Linked DNA regions of Homo sapiens: regions 1 and 2 are each linked to region 3. The links are contacts of gene promoters, found by promoter capture Hi-C in human tissues and cell types (Jung and others, 2019). All regions are on one chromosome and are shown on one strand. The core of a region is centred on a gene start or on the middle of the fragment in contact, and the rest is flanking DNA. Distances in the headings are between cores, read along the strand shown.

The links. The method cuts DNA at HindIII sites, captures the fragments that hold promoters and counts their contacts. A contact is called where the count stands out against the background at its distance.
Region 1: the fragment with the promoter of ZNF66 here is called in contact with a fragment that was not itself captured in region 3 in 3 of the 25 tissues and cell types used here (aorta, spleen and thymus).
Region 2: the fragment with the promoter of ZNF626 here is called in contact with a fragment that was not itself captured in region 3 in 2 of the 25 tissues and cell types used here (H1 embryonic stem cells and mesenchymal stem cells).

The regions. Positions count from the first base shown.
Region 1 is chr19:20,773,958-20,778,144 of GRCh38, reverse strand. ZNF66 (zinc finger protein 66) reads right to left here and starts at 1,841. Exons shown (of 4, transcript NM_001355197.2): 1 at 1,695-1,841. The coding sequence starts at 1,697. The HindIII fragment of the contact is 10,177 bases long and covers 1-3,786 here.
Region 2 is chr19:20,659,334-20,663,289 of GRCh38, reverse strand. ZNF626 (zinc finger protein 626) reads left to right here and starts at 1,719. Exons shown (of 4, transcript NM_001076675.3): 1 at 1,719-1,846. The coding sequence starts at 1,844. RefSeq lists a silencer at 1,525-1,594. The HindIII fragment of the contact is 1,409 bases long and covers 1,314-2,722 here.
Region 3 is chr19:21,383,583-21,387,766 of GRCh38, reverse strand. ZNF738 (zinc finger protein 738) reads right to left here. Exons shown (of 5, transcript NM_001355237.2): 5 at 1-4,184. The coding sequence ends at 4,093. Among named protein-coding and RNA genes, the nearest start is that of ZNF493, 11 kb to the left of the region's middle. The HindIII fragment of the contact is 5,408 bases long and covers 1-4,184 here.

The DNA.
Region 1 (4,187 bases), core at 592-3,091, 610 kb after region 3:
TGGTGACGGAGTGAGACTCTGTTTCAAAAAAATAAGTAAATAAATAAAATAATGTAGTAAAAAATTAGTCATATGGGAACACTTCTAGAAGGTACCATGTTTCATCACTTAAAATTTAGCATTTAACTCAGAAATCAAAATAAAAGGATATAGAAAAAATTTACCCTGCAAAAAGAGGAACTAATGTGTTGATGAATCCATGTAACTCCTCAATTATCTACCACATTTTCCTGTGGAAATATATTCATTGTCTACAGCCAAAATGGAAGAGAGATTTTCCCTATATTTTTCCTTGGTAACTAGCATTCCTGGCAAACATGGTGAAACCTCATCTCTACTAAAAATATGAAAACTAGCTGGGAGTGGTGGCGCTTGCCTGTAGTCCCAACTACTGGAGAGGCTGAAGCAGGAGAATCGCTTGAACCCATGAGGTGGAGGTTGCAGTGAGCCAAGATCTGACACTGCACTCTAGCCTGGCGACAGAGCAAGACTCCGTCTCAAAAAATAATAATAATAATAATAATTAATTGAGGAACATGGGGGACACTTGAGGCCCTGCTTGGGACACATGTGAAAAATGCCAGGGAAAGTCAGTCCCCTGTGGGATGTGAAAATAATTAAGTGGCAGGCAATTAGACTGAAGAGGCTCTAGTCCCCGGATTTCTATTTCTAAAAAAAAAAAAAAAAAAAAATCTAAGCTCAAGTGCATTTTTTGGCAAATTACTACATTAGGGGAAACAAAATTCAGGCTTCAGCAACTATAAACTGCCAATTAAGCTCTAATTACATAACCAGGAAATTTCCACCTTGATTGTACAAATTAAGAAACTACATTACTAAACCTAACAAATTATTGAATTTGGTTTTCCTCATCATGCATTTTATAAATGTCTTTTCTTCAAGCCTCTCCCATGGACCACAAACTACAAACTATAGCTGGGTGCTCTACAATTCTTGAATCACTCTTTGATTAAATTGTTTGATATTTTTGCAGTGACTCCCATAATTTTTTTTTTTTTTTTTTTTTTTTAGACAAGAGTCTTGCTCTGTCGCCCAGGCTGGAGTGCAGTGGCAGGATTTCAGCTCACTGCAACCTCCGCCTCCCGGGTTCAAGCGATTCTCTCACTTCTGCCTCCCGAGAAGCTGGGACTACAGACATTCGCCAACATATCCACCTAATTTTTGTATTTTTAGTAGACAAGGGGTTTCCCCATTTTGGTCAGTCTGGTCTTCAACTCCTGACCTCAAGTGATCCGCCCGCCTCGGCCTCCCAACGTGCGGGGATTACAGGCTTGAACGACCGCGCCCGGCCCCATACAATTTTAATAGCAGAAAAGAGAAACTGTGAACCCCACAGACCAAAGCTCTTCCCATTCATGAACCCGCACCGCGAGTCAGCATTCTCCCCTGAAGACCCTCCGGTGGTCCCTGCACAATCTGGGAGAGACACGGCACTGCGGGTGCAGAGCTGCCCACAGAGCGCTCCAGGCCAGGGGCACAGTCACTGCGCGGGGAAGCGACAGGACGCCCGGGGGCCAGGCTGTCAGCGTAGCCGCCATCTTATGGCTGAATGGGACTGAGGCAGAGCTGGGTAAGGAGAATTCGGGGTGCAGATTGTGGAGCTGACTGAGGGGAGGCCTGAGTCCCGCCACAGACACTTCACCTCTCTCGGGATGCTGGACCGGCACTCTCACCATTTCTAGGCTTCCAGGGGGTCCTGGCGTCTTAGCTGTGGATCTCCCAATACCTGCAGGACACAGGGCCACAGAGGCTGGGCCTCTAGGAGAAGAAGACAGAGAGCAGTGAACAGACGACCTGGAGCTCCAGCTGCAGGGAGAGACAAAGACCCCGCCAAATCCGGAAGCCGTCCTGTTCATTCCAGCTGCGTGCCTGATTGGACGGTTTCCAGCCCAGCGCCTCTGATTGGCTAATGCTTAAGGTCCCGCCCCCTCAGACACTGAGTGACAGAAGATGTGATCAGCTGCTGGGCGGAGTGAAGAAAAGAGTGACAGCCTAAGCTGCAGCCTTTTCAGGCAGGGCTTCCTCCCAGAGCTGAGCCTGGTCCATGCCAGAGCATGGGAACATTTTATCTCTTTTTTACTCTCTGTCTTGTTGAATGTATTCAAAGGTGAACAGAAGTATTTTGCTGTCATATTAATAATACATAAAATTTTTGTTCAAGAGAAAATCAGCTTTTACTTTGGTAATAGTGTATTAACGATTAAAGCTAATTTTAATAAAACCTTATAAATAAATCAAATTTGTCATTTTTGACCACTCCAGATTTACATATATATTTTGTAATCCCTGTAATTTTTTTATCTATTTATATTTTATTTTTATCCACATTCTTCTTATTTTTTCAACTTGAAACAACCTTTAAGTAATTTCAAACTGCTATAAGAGATAGAAATAATTTAGGGTCAGGCACAGGTAGCTCATGCCAGTAATCCCAACACTTTGGGAGGCCAAGGTGGGTGGATCACTTGAGGTCAGGAGTTCAAGACTAGCCTGGCCAACATGGTGAAACCCCATCTCTACTCACAATGTAAAAAATTAGCTGGGTATGGTGGTGCACATCTGTGGTCCCAGCTACTCCGGAGGCTGAGGCAGGAGAATCACTTGAACCCAGGAGGTGGAGGTTATGTAACAGCCCAAGGGGTTCATTTTGCCCTTTGCCTAGACAGAGCCAATTCATGAAGACAGGAGAATTTATGGAGGAAAAGTTAAATGTTAAATTTGAACTCAATTGAACGTGGACACAATGGTCACCAAGTCCCAGAACAGGTCCTGGTTGTGAGCCCCTGAGGTGTTCATCCAGAGCTGTATCAAAGAAATGTCTATTTCATTCTATTACTATACATTAGTTGTTGAAAAACAATAGACAATCACAAAAACAACTTGACCCTTTTGTGTTCCGTGAGGCAAGTCCCAAATGGCCCTCCTCACTGGGCCTTATGCCAAACAACTCGTTACAAAAGAGCTAGGGTCCCAGACCACCCTGAAGCTTCATGAGACTCCTTGTCTGTGCATGAATGGGTGGCCGACTCTGGAGCCTGGGCTGTTTCTTCCTACTCAGTTGGTAATCCTCCATAGTCTAGTGAGGGTAAATATATATATATATCTTTTCCCATCTCCTCTTCTTACTGCAATTTGCTTATTATATCAATCTGTGTATTATATTTATTTGCTTATTATATCATTTGCTTATTATATCATTAGTTTATTCTGTCTGCATTGATATTGATGTGGGTTAAAGCTTGTTTACCATTAAAGTTATTGTATGTATGTCTTTTCTTCTCCTCTCCCACGTTTCCCATACAGAACATTTTTGGCATCACAAACAGGATTTGAAAACAAAAGTGGGCCCCTTTTTGACCAGAAGGATAGGGCTGGAGGCTCAAGGATTTCCCATATCCTGAGATGGGATCACTCCCAGTTCTCCTTCTTTGTGATTGAATGGTTCAGGGGAACTGGCCTTTGTGGGAATTGGGAATCTAAATTAGTGCAATTTAAACCTTTGACTGTGCGTGAAGTGCTGCAGGGGATTCCAGTCACCAAAGGAGATGCTGAGGGAATCTCACAAAGTGGATAGTGTTTGATTGCTGCTTATAAGTTAATGTGTCAAGATAGGGGCTGGTTGCTACAAGAGAAATATAAGCTGGAAAAGGAAAATGCTAATCTGACTTCCGGACTGGCCCTGGCCCAATGCCAGTCAATGTCTTGACTGATCAGGCTCAAAGCTATCAGCCTATTGCTGAAAAAAGCAGCTGTCCAGGTGGCCCAATCAGGGTAAAACTGAAGAACTAGTCAGCCGGGGCTTAGAGCATGTAAAAACCCAGTTCCTATCTCAAAAATGGGAAATTAAGCCTAGTAAAATTAAGGATCCGCACAAAGTGTAAAATTCTTTGGCATCCTATGGAATGCAAAGAAACAGTCCACTTCACCAAAGGCTAAGGCTAAAATACTATAATTTGCAACCCCTACCACTAAGAAGGAGGCCCAGAAATGTATTGACTTGTTTGGATTCTGAACACATCATATTCCTTACTTGGGTAACATTTTACAACATCTGAATGCAGCCACTAGAAAAAGGTATGACTCTCACTGTGGAGAGAAAGACAGCATGGCTTTTGAACAAGCTAAACAAGCAGTGCAACTGGCCCTGGATCTATGGCCTATATGGG
Region 2 (3,956 bases), core at 470-2,969, 720 kb after region 3:
AAGACCACCTTGCCAAAATAAGGCATGCAGACAAGATTAAACAAAAATGAATAAAAAGGAACAAATGAAGCCTTTGAGAAATATGTTCTGTGCAGGAAACACATGAGGGGAGAAGAAAAGACACGCACACAATACCTTTAAGGGTAAACAAGCTTTATCCCAGGTAAATGGCAATGCATATATAATAAGCAAATTGATATAATAAGAGCATTGCAATGGGAAGGGGAGAAGAGAAAAAATATATATCTTTACACTCACCAGACTATGGAGGATTCATCAGCAGACCAGGAAGCAACAGCCTGGGCTCCAGAGTCGGCCACCCATCCCTGTACAGACAAGGAGAGGTCTTTGGAGCTTTGGTGCAGTCTGGGATCCTAGCTCTTTTTGTAACAAGTTGTTTGGCATGAGGCCCAGTTGCAACTGGGCTCTTTGCAACTGGGCTCAAGGAACACAAAAAAGTCAACTTGTTTTTTTTGCGATTGGCTATTGTTTTTCAATAACTAACGTATAGGAATAGATTAAAATAGAGATTTCTCCAAAACAATCTGTGCCCAGTTCTCTTTGCCCAGCTTGGCCTCAGTCCCATTCAGCCAGAAGATGGCAGCTGCGCTGACAGCCAGGCCCCCAGAAGTCCTGCCTCTTCACTGCGCTGTGACTGTGCCCTGGCCTGGAGCCCACTTTGGGCAGCTCTGCACCTGCAGCATGGCGTCTCTCCCAGATTGTGCAGGGACCAGGGGAAGGTCGGCAGGTGAATGCCTCAAGGGGCTCACATAACCTGTTCCAGGACTTGGTGACCATTGTTTGTGTCCATGTTCAACTGAGTTCAAATTTAATATTTAACTTTTCCTCCACAAATTCCCCTGTCTTGATGAATCATCTCTGTCTAGGCAAGATGAAGCCCTTAGGCCGTTACACAACCTCCGCCTCCTGGGTTCAAGCGATTCCCCTGCTTCAGCCGCCGTAGCACCTGGGACTACAGGTGTGTACCACCACACCTGGCTAATTTTTTGTGTTTTTACTAGAGATGAGATTCAACATGTTGGCCAGGCTGGTCTTGAACTCCTGACCTGAAGTGATCCACCCACTTTGGCCTCCCAAAGTGCTTGGATTACAAGCGTGCACCAGCGGACTGGCCCTAAATGATTTCTTTGTCTCTTGTAACAGTTTGAAATTACTTAAAGGTTGTTTCAAATTGAAAAAATAAAAAGAATGTAGATAAAAATAAAATATAAAAAGTTAAAAAATTACATTAGATTACAAAATATGTATGTAAATCTCGAGAGGTCAAAAATGACAAATTTGATTTTTTATAAGGTTTTATCAAAATTACCTTTAGTATTGATAATACATTATTGCCAAAGTAAAAGTTGATTTTCTCTTGAACAAAAATTTTATGTATTATTAATATGAGAGCAAAATACTTCTGTTCACCTTTTGAATACATTCAAAAAGAGAGAGAGTAAAGAAAAGATAGAATTCTCCCATGCTCTGGGGTGGGCCTGGCTCAGCTCAGGAAGGAAGCCCTGCCTGAAAAGGCTGCAGCTTAGGCTGTCACTCTTTCTTCACTCAGCTCAGCGTCTGATCACATCTACTGTCACTCAGGGCCTCAGGGGGCGGGGCCTTAAGCATTATCCAATCAGGGATGGTGGGCTGGAAACCATCCAATCAGGAACGCAGCTGGAGCGAAGAGGACGGTTTCCGGGTTTGGTGCGGCCTTTGTCTCTCGCTGCAGTCAGAGCTCCAGGTCTGGTTCTTCTCCTAAAGGCCCAGGCTGTGTGGCCCCGTGTCCTGCAGGTATTGGGAGATCCACAGCTAAGACACCGGGACCTCCTGGAAGCCAAAAATGGTGAGAGTGAGGGTCCGACATCCCGAGAGAGGAGAGGGACTGGTTGGAACCGGTGAAAAGTGGCTGTGGCGGGACTCAGGCCTCCCCGCAGTCAGCTCCACAGTCTGCTCCCCCAGTTCTCCTTGCTCAGCTCGGCCTCAGTCCTGTTCAGCCATAAAATGGCAGCTGCGCTGACAGCCGGCACCCGGGCGTCTTGTCTCTTCACTGCGCGGTGACTACCCTGGCCTGGAGCCCTCTCTGGGCAGCTCTGCACCCGCAGCGTGGCGTCTCTCCCAGATTGTGCAGGGACCAGGGGAGGGTGGGCAGGGGAGAATCCTGACTCGGGGTGCGGGTTCATGAATGGGAAGAGCTTTGTTCCTTTGGGTTTACAGTTTCTCTTTTCTCCTATTAAAAATGTATGGGGCCGGACGCTGTGGCTCACGCCTGTAATCCCAACGTTTTGGGAGGCCGAGGCGGGCGGATCACTTGAGGTAAAGAGGTGTTAGGACAACTAAGTTCCTTTTAAATGACTCAACTTTCTGGTCATAAGTTGTAAAAGTTGTAAATCAACCCTACCTCTTCTTCTACCCCCTTTTCCTTTTCTCGCAAATCGCGCATTTACTTTATTTGGAAAAAGTTTGGGTCTAAGCTTACCAGGATCAGCTTAGATTGTGCGGTCTGATCCCAGCCAATAGGGGATGGAAACAAAAACAGGAACTGCATTAGGGTTCAAAACCCCTTTCTTGCTGGGCGCGGTGGCTCAAGCCTGTAATCCCAGCACTTCGGAGGCCGAGGCAGGTGGATCACGTGGTCAGGAGTTCTAGACCAGCCTGGCCAACGTGGTGAAACCCGTCTCTACTAAAAATACGAAAACTATCGGCGTGTTGGCACGTGCCTGTAGTACCAGCCACTTGGGAGGCTGAGGCACGAGAATTGCTTGAACCCGGGAGGCGGAAGTTGCAGTGAGCTGAGATCCAATCATCGCGCTCCAGCCTGCGTGACAAAGCGAGACTCCGGCTCAAAAAAAAGAAAAAAAAAGTAAGCATCTTAAAAATTCCTTTATGTAAACATTGTGAGTAATTTCACTGGAGTTTCTAACACTTAGTTTCAAAAACCAAGTGAATAACTGATGTGGACATTAAAGCTTGAACCTAGTGACTCCAAGCTAAGGCTAATATTAAGCCTGCAACAGGGTATTTTTTTTTTTTTTTTTTTTTTTTTAGACACAGTGTCGCTTGTGGTGCCCAGGCTGGAATGTAATGGCGTGATCTCGGCTTACTGGGTTCAAGCGATTCTCCTACCTCAGCCCCACCAGTAGCTGGGATTACAGGCATGCACCATCACGCCCGGCTAATTTTGGTGTTTAGTAGAGACGGGTTTTCTCCATGTTTGTCAGGCTGGTCTTGAACTCTCTGCCTCAGACCCGCTTCGGCCTCCCAAAGTGCTGGCATTATCGGTGTGAGCCACCGCACCCGGCCAACAGGAGGTTATTAAAGGCCCTGTTATTTTTTTCTGGGGAGTCTCCCTTGCGGATATCTCAAGACTGCTCACCCCAGCCACGGAAGGAGCCTTCATTCTGAAAGAAGCTACAAAGCCTTGGAAAGCTGGGGCCCCACAGGCAGATGCAGTCAAGATTAAGATGAAAGGAAACTGGGAGGGTCTTACTGGTAATGAAGTTGTTATGGTTTTGAGGCACTTTTTACGCTTTCTAAAATAAGAATATTAGATTTATGTAAAAAAAAAATGAATTCCTAAGAAGTATTGCAACAGGAAGAAGTACCAGCTAACTAAAAAATCTTCATGGGTTGCAAAAATGTAGGCAGAAAAGGGCTTTTCTCCTACATTGGAGATGGCTTATCTCCATCCCTCACTAGCCTGAGGGATGGAGATAAACTTAAGTAAAGTTTGATTAAGAAATATTTTAGGCTGAGCGCCATGGCTCAGGCATGTAATCCCAGCAGTTTGGGAGGCCTAGGCGGACGGATCACCGCAAGTCAGGAGCTTGAGACCAGCCTGGTCAACATGGTGATAACCCTGTGTCTACTAAAAATACAAAAATTAGCTGGTAGTTGTGGTGGCCACCTGTAATGCCAGCTACTTGGGAGGCTGAGGCAGGAGAATTGCTTGAACC
Region 3 (4,184 bases), core at 255-2,754:
GTCCATCTTCAATATAAATTCTCTTCTTCACTTTAAAGGGTTATATTTTTCTGAAAGACCTTTTGACAGTAATTGCCCTTATCTTGCTTTTATTAAGTATGAACTCTCTGGTGTTAAGATGTAAGCAGATATTAATGTCTTTTTCACAGTCTGTATTTGTATAATTTTTCTCAAACATAAATGCTTTTCTGTGCAATAAGGTGGTTAAGTTTTGCCACATTGCTCTCACTTGTAGGATTTCTTTCCAGTATGAATTATATTGAATGTAATCAAGTAAGGCAGGGAGTGGTGGCTCATGCCTGTAATCCCAGCACTTTGGGAGGCCCGAGGTGGGCGGATCACCTGAGGTCAGGAGTTTGAGACCAGCCTGGCCAAGATGGTCATACCCCATCTCTACTAAAAGTACAAAAATTAGCCAGGCGTGGTGGCAGGTGCCTGTAATCCCAGCTACTTGGGAGGCTGAGGTAGGAGAATCACTTGAACCTGGGAGGCGGAGTTTGCAGTGAGCCGACATCATGCCATTGCACACCAGCCTGGGGGACAAGAGTGAGACTTCATCTCAAAAAAAGAAAAAAGTCAAGTATGACAACCATTTAAAGACTTTGTCACATTCTTCACATTTCTAGGATTTCTCACCAATATGATTCTTTTTATGGTTAGAAAAGCTTGAGGTGTTGTCAAAAGCATTATTGCATCTTTCTGGTTTGTGGAGTTTCTTTCCAGTATGAATTATCTTATGTGTGTTAAGATCTGAGGACTAGTGGCTGAGCGTGGTGGCTCATGCCTGTAATCCCAGCACTTTGGGAGGCTGAGGTGGGCAGATTACAAGGTCAGGAGTTCAAGACCAGCCTGATCTACATGGAGAAACCCCATCTCTGCTAAACATACAAAATTAGATGGGTATAGTGGTGCATGCCTGTAATCCCAGCTACTCGGGAGGCTGAGGCAGAATTGCTTAAACCTGGGAGACGGAGGTTGCAGTGAGCTGAAATCATGCCACAGTATTGCAGCCTTGGCAACAAGAGTGAAACTCCATCTCTAAAAATAATAATAATAACTGAGAACTAGTTAAAGCTTTTGCCATATTTTTCACACTCATAAGGTTAATCTCCAATATGAATTTTCTTATGTTTGGTAAGAATTGAGGACTGGTTAAAGGCTTTGTCACATTCCTCACATTTGTAGTGTTTCTCTCCTGTATGAATTATTTTGTTCAAAAAGGTTTGTAGGACTGGTTAAAAGCTTTGCCACATTCTTCACAGTTGTGAGGTTTCTCTCCAGTATGAATTATGTTATGTTTAGTGGGAGTTGAGGACTGGATAACGGCTTTACCACATCCTTCACATTTCTAAGATTTTTCTCCAGTATGAGTTATCTTATGTTTAGTAAGGTTTGAGGATTGATTAAAAGCTTTGCCACATGGGTGGGATTTCCCTCCAGCATTAATTATCTTATGTGTAGTAAGGGTTGAGGATTAGTTAAAAGGTTTGCTACATTTTTCACATTTGTAAGGCTTCTCCACAGTATAAATTATCTTATGTGCAGAAAGTTGAGGGGACCATTAAAGGCTTTGCCACATTCCTCACGTTTGTAGGTTTTCTCTCCAGTACAAATTATCTTGTTTAGTAATGGATGAGGATTTCTTAAAAGCTTTGCCACATTCTTCACATTTGTATAATTTCTCTCCTGTAAGATTTTATGTTTAATAAGGTATGAGAATCTATAAAAAGTTTTGAGATATTCTTCATATTTGTAGGGTTTCTCTCCAGCACGAATTACCTTATGTGTCATCAGGGTTGAGAAGTGGTTAAAAGCTTTGTGACATTCTTCATATTTGTAGGATTTCTCTCTGCTATGAATTCTGTTTAGTAAGTGTTGAGGACAAATTAAAGCCTTTGCCACATTCTTCACATTTGTAGAATTTCTCTCCAGAATGAATCACCTTATTTTTAGTAAAGTATGAGAATCAATAAAAACCTTTGCCACATTCTTCACATTTGTAGGGTATCTCTCCAGCATGAATTACCTTATGTGTAGTAAGGGTTGAGTACCGGTTAAAAGCTTTGCCACATTCTTGACATTTGTAGAGTTTCTCTCCAGTATGAATTATCTTATGTGCAGTAAGGCATGAGTACCAGTTAAAAGCTTTCTCACATTCTTTACATTTGTAGGGTTTCCTTCCAGTATGATTTCTCTTATGTGCAGTAAGGTGTGAGGACTGGTTAAGAGCTTTCTCACATTCTTCACATTTGCAGGGTTTCTCTCTAGTATGAACTCTCTTATTTTTTTTATTTATTTATTTATTTTTTTGGAGATAGAGTCTCTCTCTGTCATCCAGGCTGGAGTGCAGTGGAGCCATCTCAGCTCACTGCAACCTCCACCTCCTGGGTTCAAGCGATTCTCCCACCTAGGCCTCCAGAGTAGCTGGGACTACAGGTGTGCACCACTACACCTGGCTAATTTTTTATATTTTTAGTAGAGATGGGGTTTCACCATATGGGCCAGGCTGGTCTTGAACTCTTGACCAGGTGATCTGCCTGCCTCAGCCTCCCAAAGTGCTGGGATTACAGGCATGAGCCACCGCACCCAGTCAAACTCTTTTATCTTTAGTAAGGGTAGAGGACCATTGACCAGGTGATCTGCCTGCCTCAGCCTCCCAAAGTGCTGGGATTACAGGCATGAGCCACCGCACCCAGTCAAACTCTTTTATCTTTAGTAAGGGTAGAGGACCAGTCAAAGCCTTTGCCACATTCTTCACATTTGTAGAAATTCTCTTCCGCATGAATTCTCCTATGTGTAGTAAAGTATGAGTACTGGTTATAAGGTTTGCCACATTTTTTACATTTGTAGTGTTATTCTCCAATATGAATTATCTTATGTATAGTAAGGGTTGAAGATTGGTTAAAAGCTTTGCCACATTCTTCACATTTGTAGGGTGTCTCTCCAGTATGAATTTTCTTATGTTTAGTAAGGTTTGAGGACCAGTTATAAGCTTTGCCACATTCTTCACATTTGTAGGGTTTCTCTCCAGTATGAACTCTCTTATGTCTAGTAAGAGTTGAGGACTGGTTAAAAGCTTTTCCACATTCTTCACATTTGTAGGGTTTCTCTCCAGTATGAGTTATCTTATGATTAGTAAGGTTTGAGGATTTTTAAAAAGCTTTGCCACATTCTTCACATTTGTAGGGTTTCTCTCCAGTATGAATTATCTTATGTCTAGTAATTTGTGAGGAACAGTTAAAAGCTTTGCCACTTTCTTCATGTTTGTAGGGTCTCTCTCCAGTATGAATCATCTTATGTGTAGTAAGGTATGAGAATTGGTAGAAATCTTTGCCACATTCTAAACATTTGTAGGGTTTCTCTCCATTATGAATTCTCTTATGTTTAGTAAGGGTTGAGAATACATTAAAGGCTTTGCCACATTCTTCACACTTGTAGGGTCTCTCTCCAGTATGAATTATCTTATGTTTAGTAAGGGTTGAGAATACACTAAAGGCTTTGCCACATTCTTCACATTTGTAGGGTTTCTCACCAGTATGAATTCTCTTATGTGTAGTAAGGCGTGAGTACCAGTTAAAAGCTTTGCCACATTCCTCACATTTGTAGCGTTTCTCTACAGTATGAATCATCTTATGTGTAGTAAGATAAGATAATCGGTAGAAAGCTTTGCCACATTCTTCACATTTGTAGGGTTTCTCTCCAGTGTGAATTCTCTTATGTGTAGTAAGGTAAATGAATCGGTAGAAAGCTTTGCCACATTCTTCACATTTGTAGGGTTTCTCTCCAGTATGAATCAACTTATGTGCAGTAAGGTAGGAGTAACAGTTAAAAGCTTTGCCACATTCTTCACATTTGTAGGGTTTCTCTCCAGTATGAATTATCTTATGTGTAGTAAGGTATGAGAATCTGAAGAAAGCTTTGCCACATTCTCCACATTTGTAGGGTTTCTCTCCAGAATGAATTTTCATGAGTAGTAAGGTTTGAGGACTGTTTAAAAGCTTTGCCACATTCCTCACATTTGTAGGGTTTCTCTTCAGTATGAATTATCTTATGTCTAGTAAGGGTTGCGAATACATTAAAGGCTTTGCCACATTATTCACATTTGTAGGGTTTCTCTCCAGTATGAATTATCTTATGTCTGGTAAGGTGTGAGTACCAATTAAAAGCTTTGCCACATTCCTCAC